Regions from separate parts of the Homo sapiens genome. Here all the other regions are linked to region 1. Evidence: promoter capture Hi-C in 16 types of primary human blood cells and fetal thymus (Javierre and others, 2016). All regions are on one chromosome and are shown on one strand. Each heading gives the region's core, a stretch centred on a gene start or on the middle of the fragment in contact. The rest is flanking DNA. Distances are from core to core; before and after follow the strand shown. Region 1 holds the start of HEY2 (hes related family bHLH transcription factor with YRPW motif 2). Region 2 overlaps TRMT11 (tRNA methyltransferase 11). Region 3 has its middle 160 kb from the start of LINC02523. Region 4 has its middle 140 kb from the start of LINC02523. Region 5 has its middle 9.3 kb from the start of HINT3. Region 6 overlaps NCOA7 (nuclear receptor coactivator 7).

Evidence for each region. Contacts are between HindIII fragments. The CHiCAGO score rates a contact against its expected background, and 5 or more counts as called.
Region 2: a contact is called between a fragment that was not itself captured here and the fragment with the promoter of HEY2 in region 1, in 9 of 17 cell types (total B cells, activated CD4 T cells, non-activated CD4 T cells and 6 more). The highest score is 12.3, in total B cells.
Region 3: a contact is called between a fragment that was not itself captured here and the fragment with the promoter of HEY2 in region 1, in 4 of 17 cell types (megakaryocytes, erythroblasts, endothelial precursors and 1 more). The highest score is 8.1, in megakaryocytes.
Region 4: a contact is called between a fragment that was not itself captured here and the fragment with the promoter of HEY2 in region 1, in 2 of 17 cell types (megakaryocytes and erythroblasts). The highest score is 12.6, in megakaryocytes.
Region 5: a fragment that was not itself captured here is called in contact with the fragment with the promoter of HEY2 in region 1 in 4 of 17 cell types (total B cells, naive B cells, activated CD4 T cells and 1 more); the score reaches 6.5 in total B cells.
Region 6: a fragment that was not itself captured here is called in contact with the fragment with the promoter of HEY2 in region 1 in 1 of 17 cell types (total B cells); the score reaches 5.6 in total B cells.

What each region holds. Positions count from the first base shown.
Region 1 is chr6:125,748,229-125,750,945 of GRCh38, forward strand. It overlaps HEY2 (hes related family bHLH transcription factor with YRPW motif 2), which reads left to right and starts at 1,404. Exons shown (of 5, transcript NM_012259.3): 1 at 1,404-1,631. The coding sequence starts at 1,549. It overlaps HEY2-AS1 (HEY2 antisense RNA 1), which reads right to left and starts at 1,197. Exons shown (of 5, transcript NR_183491.1): 1 at 731-1,197. RefSeq lists a silencer at 913-1,622. The HindIII fragment of the contact is 5,509 bases long and covers 1-2,717 here.
Region 2 is chr6:125,990,043-125,992,759 of GRCh38, forward strand. All of the region lies in intron 1 of TRMT11 (tRNA methyltransferase 11), which reads left to right. Among named protein-coding and RNA genes, the nearest start is that of TRMT11, 4.9 kb to the left of the region's middle. The HindIII fragment of the contact is 1,548 bases long and covers 607-2,154 here.
Region 3 is chr6:125,510,265-125,512,981 of GRCh38, forward strand. No RefSeq gene overlaps it. Among named protein-coding and RNA genes, the nearest start is that of LINC02523, 160 kb to the right of the region's middle. The HindIII fragment of the contact is 4,089 bases long and covers 1-2,717 here.
Region 4 is chr6:125,528,293-125,531,009 of GRCh38, forward strand. No RefSeq gene overlaps it. Among named protein-coding and RNA genes, the nearest start is that of LINC02523, 140 kb to the right of the region's middle. RefSeq lists an enhancer at 1-986. The HindIII fragment of the contact is 1,097 bases long and covers 844-1,940 here.
Region 5 is chr6:125,946,119-125,948,835 of GRCh38, forward strand. No RefSeq gene overlaps it. Among named protein-coding and RNA genes, the nearest start is that of HINT3, 9.3 kb to the right of the region's middle. RefSeq lists enhancers at 80-574, 225-519. The HindIII fragment of the contact is 2,744 bases long and covers 1-2,717 here.
Region 6 is chr6:125,916,213-125,918,929 of GRCh38, forward strand. All of the region lies in intron 11 of NCOA7 (nuclear receptor coactivator 7), which reads left to right. It overlaps LOC124901397 (a long non-coding RNA gene), which reads right to left. Exons shown (of 2, transcript XR_007059741.1): 1 at 2,629-2,717; 2 at 1,968-2,319. Among named protein-coding and RNA genes, the nearest start is that of HINT3, 39 kb to the right of the region's middle. RefSeq lists an enhancer at 2,007-2,717. The HindIII fragment of the contact is 1,057 bases long and covers 848-1,904 here.

The sequences.
Region 1 (2,717 bases), core at 154-2,653:
TCCTCTTCTCCCCGCCCCGCGCCGGGCTTGTGTGGACAGAGAACGGAGTGTCAAAGGGACGCCCTGGGCCGATCCCCAGGAAGCTATGAATCCCTCCGTGACGGAGGGGTCTGGGGATCGATAGACGGCCCTTTCTCAGAGGCTCTCTCCACTACTGACCAAGCGGCCCTGCCAACGTGTGGTTTCCGGCTGGACCCCAACCCAGCCGCCGCCAGTCTCCCGGCGCCCCTGGCTGGGTCTCGCTCAGTCCCTGCCCTCGCAGACGCACAGCGGGGTGGCCAGTTCAAAAGTCCTACATAACTTGGAGAGAACCAGCAGCTAGAAAACCTGTTTTAAACACACAGCTTGAGTTTTATACAACCCACGTTGTCCAAGGCACGAACTGTTGGACACGAATTCATACTTTAGAAACCAAATCTAATTTCCAAGCGCCAATCTTCACCTCCCGGACTCTAACTCTGCGGCTGCGAGTGCATACACCAGGGGGACTGGAGGAGACTGGAGGCAATTATCTGGATAATCCAAGCCCGAAAAACTCGAACTTGAAAATATACGATTATGTCCTGAAATGCCCGCGTCATTGATCTAGTCTTTCCTACCATCAGAGCTGACACAGCTCCAGTCCACGGGCTTCTCCGCGGGGTCTAGGATCCACAGTCCCTGGGGGCTGAAGACCCAATGGAAGTAACTGATGGATCGCAAATTGGAAATCGTAACGTGGCCGACAGACCTGATCAGGAAAACTCGCGTCCTTATATGAAACAGCCCCGAGGCCGCGAAAGTAGCCTCAGGAGTTGTCAGATTCAAAAGCAATTTTGATTTAAGGTTTTCAAAAGCCCCAGAGGGCAAATGTGACCACTCGGGTCAGCCAGTCAGCAGTTTGGATCCAGACAGGGGACCACCGAGTGGGGCGGCCGAGGAGCCGCGGCGCCTCCCGACGTCACACGCGCCTGCTCGCACTTAGCCACGCGCTTGGGGTTATTCTTTACACTCAGGACTGAAACTTCGCCCGCGAGACCGCGGGGCGCGGAGGAGGGCCGAAACCCAAGGTCCAGGTCCAGGGCCCGCCCCCGCGCGCCCGCGTTGGCGCCCGCGCGCTCCCTCCGCAGGGGTTAGCAAGATTGCGCTCATTCTCGCCCCGGCTGCTCCCCACCCGCTCGCTGCTCTGGGGTACCAGGTCCGCGGCCGCGTTCCCACGCCTCGGCTGGAGCCTTGCGGCGGGCATTGGCGAGCGCGGCCCCGCCCCCTGGCCCAGCCAATCGCGAGCCACGCCGACCAGCGAGGGGGAGGTGCCGGGCGGAAGGCCTGGGCCGGTGCGCGGGGGCGGGTGAGGTGGCCCCACCCGCTCGAGGGGGGGGCGTGGCCGGCGCCGGCTCTTGCGGCCGAGCAGAGTTGCGGCGTGGGAAAGAGCCGCTAGGAGCAGACCGCGCCGCCGCCGGAGCCGCGCCTGCCCAGGCCCGGGGAGGGAGGAGGCGGGCGTCAGGGTGCTGCGCCCCGCTCGGCGTCCGAGCTTCCGGCCGGGCTGTGCCCCGCGCGGTCTTCGCCGGGATGAAGCGCCCCTGCGAGGAGACGACCTCCGAGAGCGACATGGACGAGACCATCGACGTGGGGAGCGAGAACAATTACTCGGGGTGAGCGCGGGCTCCGCGGGAGCGGCCCGCAGCTCGGGAGCTTGGGGTAGCTTTGTGAATGCGTGGCTCCCTGGAAATCCCGAGGCTGGTCTCCGCAGCATCTAGGTAGAGAGGGAAAGTTTGGCCTGAGAAAGTTTGAGTGGTGGGCGCTCGCAGAGCGTGAGTTGGGATGGGGCAAGGGATGTGGATTTTCACCGTAGGGGTGGAGTAGCCAGGATGGGAGACGCCACTGAAAGGCAGAGCGCAGGAGTTGGCGAGGGAGGGTCCTGGCTGTCACAGTTGGACGCGCGAACGGCAGCGTCTGGGCGACAGGCGATGTCCCAGCCACTGAAACCGTATTTGGGGGCACTTTCAAAATAGATCAGGAGAAAATAAAAACAATTTGATTTTTGATTTTTAGAGATACCAAAATCACAACTTGATTTTTGGAGGAATTAAAGCAACCTGCGATGTCAAGGCTACGTAGGTTGAACTTTGCAGGTTGACCGTGTGTGACTTGGCTAACGCAAGAGTGAGTGACAGATGTAAGCATCGGAAAGGGCATCATTTCTTTGACTGCTTGTTCTCAAGTCTGGAAGAGATCGGCGTCGTAATCACAGAAGCCAGACCTCCACTTTCCTGTGACAGAGGGAGATTACCGAGGCATTTTAGAGCCAAGGCGGGTCAAATGATAATTGCTTCTAATTGGCATCCCCAGAAGCACCTTAATTATTTATCTGCAGCTGTCACTCAAAGAGGGAAATTCTTCCTACCTTTGGAAAACTGGTTTTCTTTCATATTGTTATTCTAATACATACAAAGCAAAGCACAAAATCTGCAAGAGCAAAGATATTTACACGAAAGCAAAGGTTTAAGTATCTGATCATTAAAGTGTTGTTGTGCCGTCTTTAAAAATGAGGTCTGAAAAACAGAAGCTATCACGTGAAAGGTGAAACCCGTAAAGAAGGGGTGAAAATGAGGGGGACAGGTAATTCAGAAATAAGATCCAGAAGTGAGAAGGTGAGGTAATAGCAACCTGGTGTGTGCAGCATTTCTAAAATGAAAGAGAACAAATAACAGGAACCTGGGGAATTTGAGAACACAAAG
Region 2 (2,717 bases), core at 131-2,630, 240 kb after region 1:
TCTGTAGTTTTTCCTCCTCTGCCAAAATTCTTATTTTTTTCTTGAATCCCCTTCAATGTAGAAAGCGTAGTTATGTTAAAGTATATGATAAAAGGGATCCTGTGGGTCTGTTTCTATTGTTTCTTTTTGTTCTGTTTCATATAGTGGGCTATTTTTAAAATATATGCCAGATGTTGTATTTGAAAATTTATTTGAAAAAATAATTTGAGGGCTGGGATGATGTACATCCTCTTCAAGAAGATAGGAACGCATAGGAGCATGAGGAATCTAGGTTGGGTTTAACTCATTTTCAGGTGTTAAGCCCTGTTTGTGTTCTGATTCCCAGGTACTCACAGAGTGTAGCTTTTTGACATCCTAGTGTAAATTAGGTGGTTCATCAAGTATCCTTTTCTCCTCTGGGGGGCCCTTTCTCTTTTTTTCCCTTTCTATCGGGCACTCAGAAGGGCTGTTCACTCTTGCAGCTGTTTTTGGATTTGTAAATGTCTCAGGGAAAAAGTGGCTCCACCTTGGAATTTTTGTCCTCTCCTGGATGTTGGTTTGGTAATTTTTGTTATCTTTCTATGCCTTCAATTAGATGGCCAGCTTTTCTAGTTCTTTTCAGCAAGAAGCTTAATCTGAATTACCTCTTTTGCCATACCTGGAAGTTGAATTCCTGTCATTGGGTTAGATTTTTTTCAGGGATTGAGGCAGTTTCCATGAAACTTTACTTCTCAAACTGAAGTAATCTTTTACTCTCTTGTACTCTAATACTTTTTTGCTTTTACCTGTTTAAGAACATGTACTGTTTTTTACACTTTACATTTCAGTTGTGAGGTGGTTTTGTTGGTTCTACTAGACCATAATTTCCCTAAGATAAATGTGTGTGTATTTTTACATAGATCAGGGACTTGCACATATTAGTTGCTTAAAAATTTTTTTGGGGGTCCGGGCGCAGTGGCTCACTCCTGTAATTCCAGTACTTTGGGAGGCTGAGGCGGGCGGATCACAAGGTCAGGAGTTCGAGACCAGTCTGGCCAACATAGTGAAACCCCATCTCTACTAAAAATACAAAAAATTAGCCAGATGTGGTGGTGTGCGCCTGTAATCTCAGCTACCCAAGAGGCTGAGGCAGGAGAATCGCATGAACCTGGGAGGTGGAGGTTGCAGTGAGCCGAGATCACACCATCGCACTCCAGCCCGGGTGACAGTGTGAGACTCCATCTCAAAAAAAAAAAAAAAATTTTTTTTGGAGACTGTTCTCTCTCTGTTTTCCAGGCTACAGTGCAGTGGCGTGACCGTGGCTCACTGCAGCCTCAAAGACCCAAGTTAAGCCATCCTCCCACCTTAGCTTCCTGAGTAGCTGGGACTACAGGTGCACCACTATGTCTGGCTAATTTTTTTATTTTTATTTTTGTGGAGCCGGGTGTTAATCAGAGGCTGAGTGTTGGTGTGAGGGGGCGGGAGGGGGTCTTGGGAGCTCTCACTGTGTTGCCAGGGTTGGTCTCAGACTCCCGGTCTCAAGTTATCTCTTTGCCTCGGCCTCCCAAAGTGCTGGGATTGCAGGTGGAGCCGCCATACCTGGCTGCTTAAAATATTAAAATCAGTGATATAGAATCTCTTCTGGGAAAGGCAATGCAAAGGACAGTCTATCCTTTTGGGCCCAGCTACTGCATTAGAACTGATAAGCAAGGAAGCTATAATGAATGGCTGCCTTTATGAATTAAAATGAGAGATCAGGAATATAAGTGTGGTCCAGTTTTACCTCTGATAGAGTTAATCAGGGCTAAGTATAGTTGGCAGCTACTTAATGTAGTACTTATTGTACTAAATAGTGTTTACTAAAGTTCAAACTCCTGGGTTTTATTGCTTGTCCTGAAGCAACCTTTTAAATGGATGAAAAAGCAAGTAGCTGAAATAATAGAAAAGCTCATGGAATTAACGCATCACACATGCCCCAGATCATGCTACATTTTTATATCCAATGTTCAATATAAATTATTTTTTATTCCTAATATAGAAAGAGTCTCAACTGGAAAGTTGAATTTGCCATAAGATTAATGAACATTTTGTGTTTTGCTTTTTCCAAGTAGATTGATGAAGTGGTTTAAACATGTTTTGCTTTTCAATTTGAAACTTGGGTTATCATATTTATTCTCAGTTTTAGGTGGCTGCTTAAGCTTTGGGTAGTAGAGATAATGCTATGCCATAAAACTTTAATCTTTCACTTTTTTTCCCCACCTAACTCTTAGGATCTTTGTGTTTTAGCTTGTTGCAGCTTTTTAACAGTATATTCCAGGAGCAGCAAACTTTGGTGTTTTAACTTGGTTATAGTTGGATGTTTTAAATGTAAAACTGACTTTACAATATGCTTTAATATAGAACAAACAACAATCATGCAAGATGAAGTAATTTAATCTATAACTTTATTTTTTTTCTTTTAAGTGCTATAACTCTATCAGTCTTGGTTGACTTCTTGAGCCACTGGACTTCTAGGACAGTTATCAGGGTCCTCATCATTTTGATTCCCTTAATAACCACCTAGGTTCTATGCTTCTCTCTTTATAGTTCACCTAACCTGATGAGGTAGCTATGATTCCTGTTTCACATTTGAGGGAACTAAAAGTTGGAGGATTTAAGATTCTTGTATAAAGCCACATCGCTAGTATTTGGAAGAGCTGAAAATCAGATTATGGTCTATTTAATTTCTAAGTCTCATGATGTCTCCTATTCAGATTTGT
Region 3 (2,717 bases), core at 149-2,648, 240 kb before region 1:
AATGTCACTGAATGTAAGAACTGAGACAAAGCCATGTAGGGGGCATTGGTGCAGAAAGAAAGGACCCTGAAGTGAAGGCCATTACTGCCCTATCAAGATTTCTTCTTCAGCCTGGTGCTGAGAATGTTGGTTGCTAAAGGCTCATGGCTGCCCCCTTCCCTAGAGAATTTCCTTTGACAAAATGACAACTTCTTCTAGGTGAGGGGGGCACCAACTTTATTAAGAAGCTCAGTGGTGTCTGTCCTTTGTAGATCAGTACTGATGATCATTATTGATTCTGTTATAGATCTGTGCTCCCTGACAGTAATGGAAATAGTAAGATCTCAAAATAGCAGAGGACAGATGGCAGCACTTGACCATCAGAAGCAAGGTGGGCATGATTATCAAAATGCACAGCACGTAGCAGGCTCTGATCAGTAGGGATTTAAGGAGATGGCTAGTAGAATATGTTGATTGTAGGGCGAGATCAATGGGCAAGCAATAAGTGTTTTGCTTAATATATATAATCAATCCAAATATATTTAAAAAAAGATGATCAGAATACTAAGGTCAGCCACCTCAATGGAAAGTCAGGATTCCTTGCCCAGTTTACAGGCTTAGCTTGTCCTCAGTTCCATAACCTATTGCTTGAAGTAGTGGTCAAGTTCCTACAAGAAAGTTCCTTAAAACACCATGGAAAGTTTATACAGCAGTGATTCCTCCAGCCTTTCTCCAAAGGGATAAATAGCCATTTACCTGGGTAAACATAAACTGGGAAAAGTGAGATGTTTAATCAGGAATCTGAGTTGACTGCAATAGCTAGGGACCTCAAGTACCATCATGGATCCTCTCATTAGAGTAAAGCTATATACGGGTCAGAAGTTCTAGCATATGTCCGTCTCAAAGTGGGTCCACAGGGTCCGTGAACCCACCCTATAGTTATTTCCTGGCTAGAAAAATTTATAATCAGAATACACAAACTTAAAATTTGGAAGAACCCTCACATTGAGTAGTAGAGAAAACATGTGTTATAGTAGGTGACATGGTTTGGCTCGGTGCCCCCACCCAAATCTCATCTCGAATTGTAATTCCCACATGTCATGGGAGGGACATGTAATCCCCATGTGTGGAGGGAGGATTGCCCCCATGCTGTTTATGTGATAGTGAGTTCTTATGAGATCTGACGGTTTTATAAGCGGCAGTATCCCCTCTCCTTTCTCTTCTCCTCTCTTTTCTCTTCTCCTCTCTTTTCTCTTCTCCTCTCTTCTCTCTCCTGCAGCCTTGTGAGGAAGGTGTCTGCTTCCCCTTCTGCCATGATTTTAAGTTTCCTGAGGCCTCCCCAGCCCTGCAGAACTGTGAGTCAATTTAACCTCTTTCCTTTATAAATTACCCAGTCTCAGGGCAGGCAGTTCTTTACAGTAGTGTGAAAACAAACAAAAACAGTAGGAAAATCCAAATGAATATCTCTGAAACTTCCAAGACAATACATCAAAAGCAATATCACATCCTAGGTAAAAAGGCAGAAATGGATACACCCCCAGAAAACTTTAAGGGATGAATGGATCACAGTGCCCATAAGTCCCATTTAATTCACTCATCATGAAATGTCCGTAGACAGAATGACTCAGCCAGTTGATGTCAGCCTCTAAACTCCACCTTCCTGGCTAACCAGATGCTGGAAAACCTTTTTCTGGATAGAGTAGATTTCATGTGAGAAACAACTGGGTACAAGTGGTACAAGGGATAAACTCTCATAAATCTGTTGGTGCCCTGCCAAACTCTCCTGTTTTCCAGGCCAGTGATCTCATCCTGCAGCTACTGTAAGTTCATCTGCTAATGGATTACAGCTGCTCCCATTTCTGGAGAATTGTCCTTAACCAAATGGGAACTACATCACCTGAGAGATAACACAACTCACCCCTAACAGGGTCAGCCTGCAGTCAATGACTCACTGACATGGTCAACAAAGGGCTATGCCAAATCTGTGGTTCAATTCATATTCCAGAGCTCCCATGGGATCAGGCTGAAGAGCGCTCCAACTGATACTGTATTCCTGTTTACTCCTTCTTTTGTTCTGTCTTGCTTCCCTCACTCCCTTTCTCTTGAGAGGACTTTCTCAATAAATTATGTGCACTAAAATTCTTGCCTCAGGCTCTGCTTCTAGAGAACATGACCCAAGATAGAATCCTAGTGCTGATTGCCAAGGAATGCTCTTTAGAGAATAAAGTGCCTAATATGAGACTTGAAGTATTAAAGACTAAAATAAAAGTCAGAAATGGACATTACTTAATATCTTGGTTTTCGCATCTTTGTACTTAGAGTTTCTCCATTGAGAAAGAGATTTTCAAGGATGATCAATTTCCACCAAGTATTCTTCGTGATAATCTGGAATTTATTTAATCTGGAATTTAGTTAATTGCAGAAAAATCCAAATTTGTGGCAACATTTGTCAGCATGAAAAAACAGTCATTTCTTTTTCGTGAAATATAAACTAATTCATGTATCCATTTAATTAACAACTACTTTCTGAATACTAATTAGAACTGGGCATTGTGTTGCCTGCTAGGGACTCAAGAGGGAGCCAGACTGTCTCCTGCCCTTTCAGAGTTTAGTAGCATCTGAGTCTCTCTCAGTTTGTCTAGAAAGGTGAGAGCCCAGAAGGGAGAAACCTGTGGCTTTCCGAGGGGAGGGTAATATGAGTGGTCTTCCCAAGTAAAGACAGGTGGAGACACTATCTG
Region 4 (2,717 bases), core at 142-2,641, 220 kb before region 1:
GAAAGAGGGGGAGTGGGGCAGAGTATCTGATTCTAGAGTGAGGAGAATGTATATATCCTAAAAAAAGGTTTCTTGCCTCTTGCCATCCCACCCTGTAATTTGTGACATCCCAAATAACCTTCTCATGCTTCAGATTCACCATACTAGGCTAGAACAGTACATGTATTATTTACCATTGCATCCCCTACTGTGTCCAACACAGTGCCCTGAATTTACTGGGTACAGAACAAATGTTTGATGAATGAATGAATGCATTCATGGGAAACCTTTCCGTTCCTTTGTACCTAGCACCTCCCTGATCCTAGGTTGGAAACACACATCCTTAAGGCAGGCTATAAAATACCTTCATCTTTAATCCTTATCCCCCTCCACAGACACCCACACCCTCTGACCAGGCATTTATCTCAGGGCACAAAATGCCATTTGCCTGCTGATCAAAGGCTGTGGGAATGGGCGGCAGGAGCAGCTGTGCTCAGATCCCGCCCACACCCTTCCTGTTTGCAGCAGCCCACCCCAGGGGCTATTATGCTTTCGGCAGGCTAAGGAGAGTCCCTCCTCCCTCCCCTCCTTCCCTGGTCCTTGCAGACACTGTGGGTCTGAAGTGGCAGCCCCTCGCCCCTGGAGCCTGCTCTCAGCATTTCATTGTCCCCAGGCAAGACATAGATAGCGGGCCAGACGCTCCTTTCCCCTTTCCTGGGACTCTGATAAGGCAATGAAAACAGTTCTCTATTTTCCTGCACAAAAGCTGACATACAAGAATGGGGTGGAGCATAAGTGATAACCAGCTAGAATTTGTTGCTTTTTAAAAGAAATGTGGTGGGGAAGGAAAGAGTGAAGACTAAAAGCTTTGAGTTTCTGCTCTGGGTTGTAAGAGGCAAACATCTTCCCATGACAATGCCCCCTTTTCAGTCTTAGAGGCTCATTTCCTTTCTGTAAGGGAAAACACTGTCCTCAGGTCAGAGGGCCACAAGAGACTCCTCCTAAGGTTGGCCAGGCCACCTGGGAGCCTCTCATGTGACCCATTTACCTAAAGCGTAGCTTACAGATCAGAATTAAGAGAGAGGGAAGAAGACAAGAATTTCTTCCTCCGTGTTTAATCCATTCCAGTCAGGATTCTCATTCTTTGGAACCCGTCTGTCTGGTCAATTTCAAGATGCGTGTGCGTGAATGTAGGGAGCTTCATATAAACCCCACACACTCTCAGTTTCCTCCAAGTGTCCCGTCCCTGATAAGGGGCTCCTTAAATAAACAAAACGATCTGCACAGTCCAAGTTATTTTTAGAGAGAATTCCTTCAGAGATGTAGCTGGTGTTTGGTAAATGCAGAGGTTAAAAAAAAATGGAGTGAAGAGATGGAGGATCGCTGTTTCTATGTAGAACTGAATAAAAATGGAATAGAGAAATACAATTTTTAAAAATGTCTTCTGGAAATACAACTTTAAAAAGTGTTTTCACTGCCCTGAGACTGGTGCTGGCCTCCTGCTGCCACCACTAGTTCTGGAACCTGGTGCAGTTAAAGAAACCTTCAGACTTCATCTTCTTCATTAGAAAAAGAAGGCTATTTCCTGAGCCCAATTTAAGGAAATTAATTGTTCTGGGGGTAGAGTCTCAGTATTGGTACTGATTTTTAAAGCAACCAAGATGATTCTAATGTACTGTCAGGGTTGAGAATCTGTGAACAAGATCATCTCTGAGGTTTATCCCCTGGTTCTAAAATTTTGTAGTTCCATAGTTTAGGTACCAAGTTTTTCTATCTAATCTCTATCATTTATCTAAAAACTTTATTTGGAGCTCCTTACTATCCCCAAGTCTTTCCAGAATTAGTGAAGAAAGACATTCAACAACTGGCCATGACTGCTTCTCCTTCCACTCTTGGAACAGAAGAGCAGGTTGTTGAGTATTTGCTCAATAACCCAGGGACCCAGTTTCCGAAGACATGTAAGCTTGGAGGCCTCTAGAGAATTAAAGGAGGGTCATATTCACAAACTTAACTTACCCAAGACAAATATAAAACTCTGTTCAAATACATACAGTGAGGAGAAGCAGACACAGACGTAGAACAACCCTGCTAGGCAATTTAGAGTCCTATCCATTTTTTGTCATGAAATAGGCAGTATTGGACAAGTGCATCCCAGCAATCACAGATTGAGATGGGCCTCCTCTATTTTCCTTGAGAAAACACTTGATTGTCTTTACAAATTGCACCATTTTAGATTTTTGCTTCTGAATTTGCAATATAAATTATTCTTAGGATCTTTCGGTTTCCCACGATGCCCTCTTTCATCAATTTTCCTGGCTAGAGTCTAAGATTCATATTCCTTTTTTCACTCCGAAATTGCTCATTTTTCCTCTAGAGAGGCTCTTCCACCACTGAGCGGTCTTGGCAGCGGCTCTTTGTGACAGTTGCCTATAGGCATTCCCAATTCTCGAGTGGTTTTAAAATCAAGTATGCAGCTGAATAAATAGAAAAGGAGCAAACAGCACAAAATTAAGTAAAATACCAAATATCTCATACAAATGGAATAGACAATAAAAGCAAAAGATAGAGATGATTGTGTCAACTTAGATGTTTAGAATAAAATCTCAGGAATTGGAAAAGATTCTATCAGCTATATAGGTCAAAATCCCAACCCATGCTCCCTTCAGCATCTTCAGCATCCAGCATCTGCGTAAACATCCACTGAGGAAGTTCACTCTCACAAGGCGTACCATTCCAGG
Region 5 (2,717 bases), core at 122-2,621, 200 kb after region 1:
GCTTGAAAGAAGAGAAGGTTTACAAGAGAACGGGAGGAAAGAAATTGGAGAGAGCTAGTATGGACACTTATTTCAAGATTTCCTGCTAAGAGCAACAAATACATGGGACAGGTCCTGGTGGGAAAAGTAGGCTCAAAAGAAAGTTTCATTTCATTTTTCTAGAGTGGAAGAAATTATAGCATGTTTGTAAGTGGATAGAATGATCCAGTAAAGATAATAAAATACATGATGTAAGACATAAGGGGAATTTCTGAAGTGGTGTTCTTGCGTGAGCAAGAAGGAATGGGATCTAGCATGTAAGTGGAGGAATTAGTTTTGATATGAGCACAGACTGTTTATCTTTGGTATCAGTCAGGAAGGCCAAGTATATGAGTCATCATTTTGGAGGGAGTCAGTTGAAGTTCTCTTCTGAGAGCTTCAATTTTCCCATTACGCCCTTTATCCTTGCTCATGTGAATTACACGGGAAGCATCAGAGTCCCAGGGCACCCCTTATTTCCAGCTCTCTAACCCTCATAGAGCTCTGTAATTCCCATAAATGGTCTCCTATCCTCCCTCCTGAAACTCTTTCTTTACGTTATCAGAAATGTAGAGTGCATCATGTCAGTTGTGTAGGAGAGTGTTTATTTTCCTGTGCCCTCGCAATACAAATGCTATTGCATAAAGGAATCTTTGCCAATTTAATTGGGGAAAGGCTTATTTCACTGTTATTTAACGTAGACTTCTTCAATTTCTAGTAAGGATGAATATTTTCTTCACATTTTTAAATGGTACTTTTTCTTTTAATTAATTACTTTCATAAAAGCTGCTTATTTTTCTGCTAGGGTTTTCAACTGTTTTTTTTTTTTTTTTTTTTTTTTTTTTTTTTTGAGATAGGATCTTGCCCTGTAGCCCAGGCTGGAGTGCAGTGGCATGATCTCAGCTCAGTGCAGCCTCTGCCTTGTGGGTTCACGCGATTCTCCTGCCTCAGCTACCTGAGTAATTGGGACTATAGGCGTGCACCACCATGTCCAGCTAATTTTTGTATTTTTAGTACAGATAGGATTTCACCATGTTGCCCAGGCTGGTCTCAAACTACTGGCTTCAAGTGATCCACCTGCCTCGACCTCCCAAAGTGCTGGGATTGCAGGTGTGAGCCACTGTGCTGGCCTCAATTCTTTCTCATTGTTTTGTAAGAACTCTTCCTAGATAAGTTTATTAATACTATTTTTCACGCATGATGCAAATATTTTCACTCAAATTTCCACTTTTCTTTCAATGCAGTTTTTGGCACTTTTACATACTTTAAAAAATCTTATTTTACATCAATCAGTAATTTATTTAATGGAATCCATTTTGAGCACTTAGGCCCTTTCCTTGCCACCCCCAAGGCAAAGTAAATATTCACCCACATCTTAAAGAAACCCGTAACAGTTCTTTGGTTTCAGTTGTTGCATTTAAATAGTTAATTTCAACAGAAGTATATCTGAGTGCATGGTATAAAGAAGAGATATAATTTTTTTTGCCCCCTGAAATGGTGGCCAGTTGTCACAACTGTCTTTATGAGCTAATTTCTTGTACTAGAAGGGTCCACTATCCCTTTCTAAGGGTACGGCCCAGCCAGCAGTTTCCTGCTGAGAGAAGATGCCCTGGAATGCTCTTGAGAAAGGATTGGTCATCAGTTAGGTTGGGCCTCTGTGCCAAGGCAGCCTCTTAGGTTCATGACAGCCTGCCAGGAACAGCTCCACCCAGAATACTGATATTAACTGGTATTTGAAGCAGCAATAAAAAGAGTATTATGCATTTAGCATCACGGAGAGAAATAAAAACCCACAAAAAGAAAAGTTGAATTTGAAAGGACAATACCAGTAGCTATGCCATTAGTGATGCCATTGAGAAAATCAGATTTCACTGTACATTTTTAAATATGTACAATCCATCTATCCATTCCCACAATTAATGTTTTTCCACAGCCTACTGTGTGCCAGATACCAGGCTGGATGTTTTGATAAACAAGACCACGTCCCACCCACAGGGAATTTACATTCAAATAAGTATTGGGAGCTGACAGGAACATCTAGAAAGCATCATCCTATGTATAGGATTTAAACAGCATATAATAATGGAATAATTTAACAATCCATTTAACATACCAGGATACACAGCTTGCAAACTGAAGCAAGTGTATAAAATTTTTAAAATGTGATAGAGGTAGAGTTAGAAAGCTGGTGGGGAAAGAATGGTAAGTTAGTTGAGTTTCCTGAGGTTTCAAGGAATGGAGACACCTGAGCAACTTAACATGAAAGAAATTTATTTACTTTGAGTTGGTAACAGTCACTTTGCTCAGCCACTCCGGTATCTCTACCTCTTCTGGCCTTTATCAGTGTAGCTCATAGTCTCTGATATTTTTTACATAACTTCTCTTTTTTCCTATGAATAATCTCTTTGGTTATTAACTTACTGACTTAAATTCCTTTTTTATCATTCTCTCTTAAACCAACAGGAATCAGCCTTTCTTCCCACCTCTAACACTAAAACTGCTTTTATCAGCTTTTCCAATGACCTTAGGTCAATTCTGAGTCTTCCTCTTTCTCATGCTATTACTGGCCTTTGGCATAGTTGATCACGCCTTCCTATTTGAAACACTCTTTGCTTTGCCTTCAGGACACCATTCTCTCCTTGTTCTCCTGTGTCATAGGACACTTTTTCTCATTCACGTCTCATTATTTGTCATTTATC
Region 6 (2,717 bases), core at 126-2,625, 170 kb after region 1:
CCTGCCGCCTTGTGAAGAAGGTGCTTACCTCTCCTTTGCCTTCTGCCATGATTGTAAGTTTCCCAAGGCCTCCCCAGCTATGTGGAACTGTGAGCCAATTAAACCTCTTTTGTTTGTAAATTACTCAGTTTCAGGTAGCATCTTTATAGCAGTGTGAAAACGGACTAATACACAAGCTGTAGTTTGCCAGACCTCAGTTCCCTTCATCCAGTCAGGCAAGCATGTATCAAGTACTTCTTTAGGCGAGGGCCCTGGAAATACAATGATGGATAACATAGGCTCTCAATACTTAACAAGCTTGCAGCACTGGGAAATTGGGAGATGAGACTAGGAAAAATAGGTCTACCCCTCCTTCCTGTTCTGCTGCTCTCTTGAACCCCACTTAGCATTTCTTCTTTCCCAGCTTAGACAGATGGTAAATGAATTCAAACACATCCTTACCAGGACTCCTGAGTTCCTCCACCCCTCTCCCATCTACTGCACCCATCTAGCCTGCGTGCAATCCTGGATGAACCCACCCTCACACTTTTCTGCTCCTAGGCAGCCAAGCATTGCTGGAGAGAACCTGTCCACCAGGGAGAATGGTGCCATTACAAATACATGGTTCTGAATTCATCTGTGTCCATGTATAAGTGGCCCTGCAATACTAATTTAAACTCTTCACTCAATCTGTAGTTGCTTTTTTGATGTATGGTAGATGATATTTTTAATAGTCAATTTTTTTCCAGCACTATTTAATGATTTCCAATGTTTCCTTCATCATGTTGAAAGATCTTACATATGGACTGTGGGGCTGTATAACTTGTCATTTAAATATACAAGCAAGCTTGGATACTCTGTGCTTAAAAGCTTCAGTGGCCTCCTTATTGACTCTGCTGATTCTTACCCACCTGTTAGAATAACTACCTGGGAATTTTAAAAAACTGAATCCTAGATCCTTATTACTAGAGACATTAATTCAGTAGGTCTGGAGGGAGGAATGTTAGAATCTGTATTTTTCAAAGCTCCCAGATGATTTCCAAACAGTTATGTTTTGGAAACACTGACCTGTAGGGTAAGTTTTAAGCTCCTTCGTGGCATCAGGGCTCTTCTTTTTCTCTGCTCCTCCTACCTTTTCTGTCTCATCTACCTTCCTCATCACTGCTTTCCTTGCTGTCTCTTCTCCAGCCAATGTGAACCCAGAATCCATCTCTGCATTCCTGCTGTGCCCTGTCCCTGGAACATCTTCTCACACCCTATCCTTGCTCTCAAACTGAAGCACCATCTCCTCTGTGAATAAGCTATCTCAGAACCCCCCAGGTCACCCCAACCTCCTTTGAGTGTCTGCTGTAGATTTTGGCATCTGTATCCTATAAACCAAAAACAATGCCTGAGACAGATCTCAATCAATTTAGAGGTTTATTTTGCTAAGGTTGAGGATGCATCTGGTTAGGGAGGGAAAAAGAGACACAAGCCACAGTAGGATCTGTGTCCTGCACTTTTTCCAAAGAGGGTTTTGAGGGCTTCAGTATTTAAAGGGGGAAAAGTGGGCTGGAGAGGAAGGAGAAAAGAGGAGGGTAGAAAAAATGAGACAAACGGTTACTTTCTTGTGAGTCTTTGATTAGTGTGCACTGAATCCAAATGTTGCATGTGCAAAGGAGAGGGTAGAGGAACCCTCAATCATGTATGCCTTGTGCGCAGTAAATCTGCACTTTACATAAGATGAAGTAAACAGAGTCGTGGAAGAAGTCCAGTATGCATTGGTCTGGAGGTGAGCAGTAAGGTCAATTTCTAGTCTGCTCTTGTTTCCGACTTGTGAAAATAAGCTGTTAATTTACATTGTCCAGGTGAGGGAGACCACCTGGGGAGACAGCTGTTTAGAAACAAAAGGAAAGATGGTTTTTGTTTGTGTGGCTCAGTTTCAAAGCTTAATTTTCCCTTTTTTTGTAGTGAGTTTGTGATCCCAAGATTTTATTTTCCTTTTACAATCACATGGAATGGCACCCATTTATTTAGAATTGTTTCTCTACTGTCTCCTCACCTGCTGGAGACTGTGAGCAGCTTTATGTCTCTGTGCCTGGCAAAGCACCTGGCACCCACCATCATATAGGAAATAATAAATGTCCGCTGTCCTGGAGTCCCAGGGGCCCAGAGGAGAGTGTTGTCTTGCTGGCATTCTGTCCCAGGTTGTGCTCAGGCTGTTGCATTGAGAGTCAGTTCTGCTGGCCGTGGACTGGTCTCTAAGTATCTGCTAGAGTCTTCTTTATAACCCCCAGTGTGAGCAATACAATACACTCTGATCCCCGCAGCTGTGCCCAAGACTGAAAGGCCACTTCGGATCTGGAAGAATCACAGAAATATCACTGAAAATTGATCCAGTGCTGATCTGTATTTCTTTCTAACCTCCTGACATGTGATCTGAAGTGTAGAGGAGGACTCATCCTGCTTATTAGTCATTAAAACTAATTCCAAAATGTAAAAAGATAAGTATTACTCTGCCAACTGTTTTATAAAACTACATGTAAGATGACATCTTTCACAACCTCATGTAAACCAGATGTTTTCCCATTCTTTTAAGTCCCTCCCACCAACAAACATGACATAGTATTGAAGTGAAATGCCGTTTGTTCTAACTGTAATGAAGCCTACCTCCACCGAAGGCTCCTTTTCATCCTTCCTTTGAGATTCAAGCTTATACCAGGGATCACACGTACCATTTTAAATGGAGCTTTAGCCTT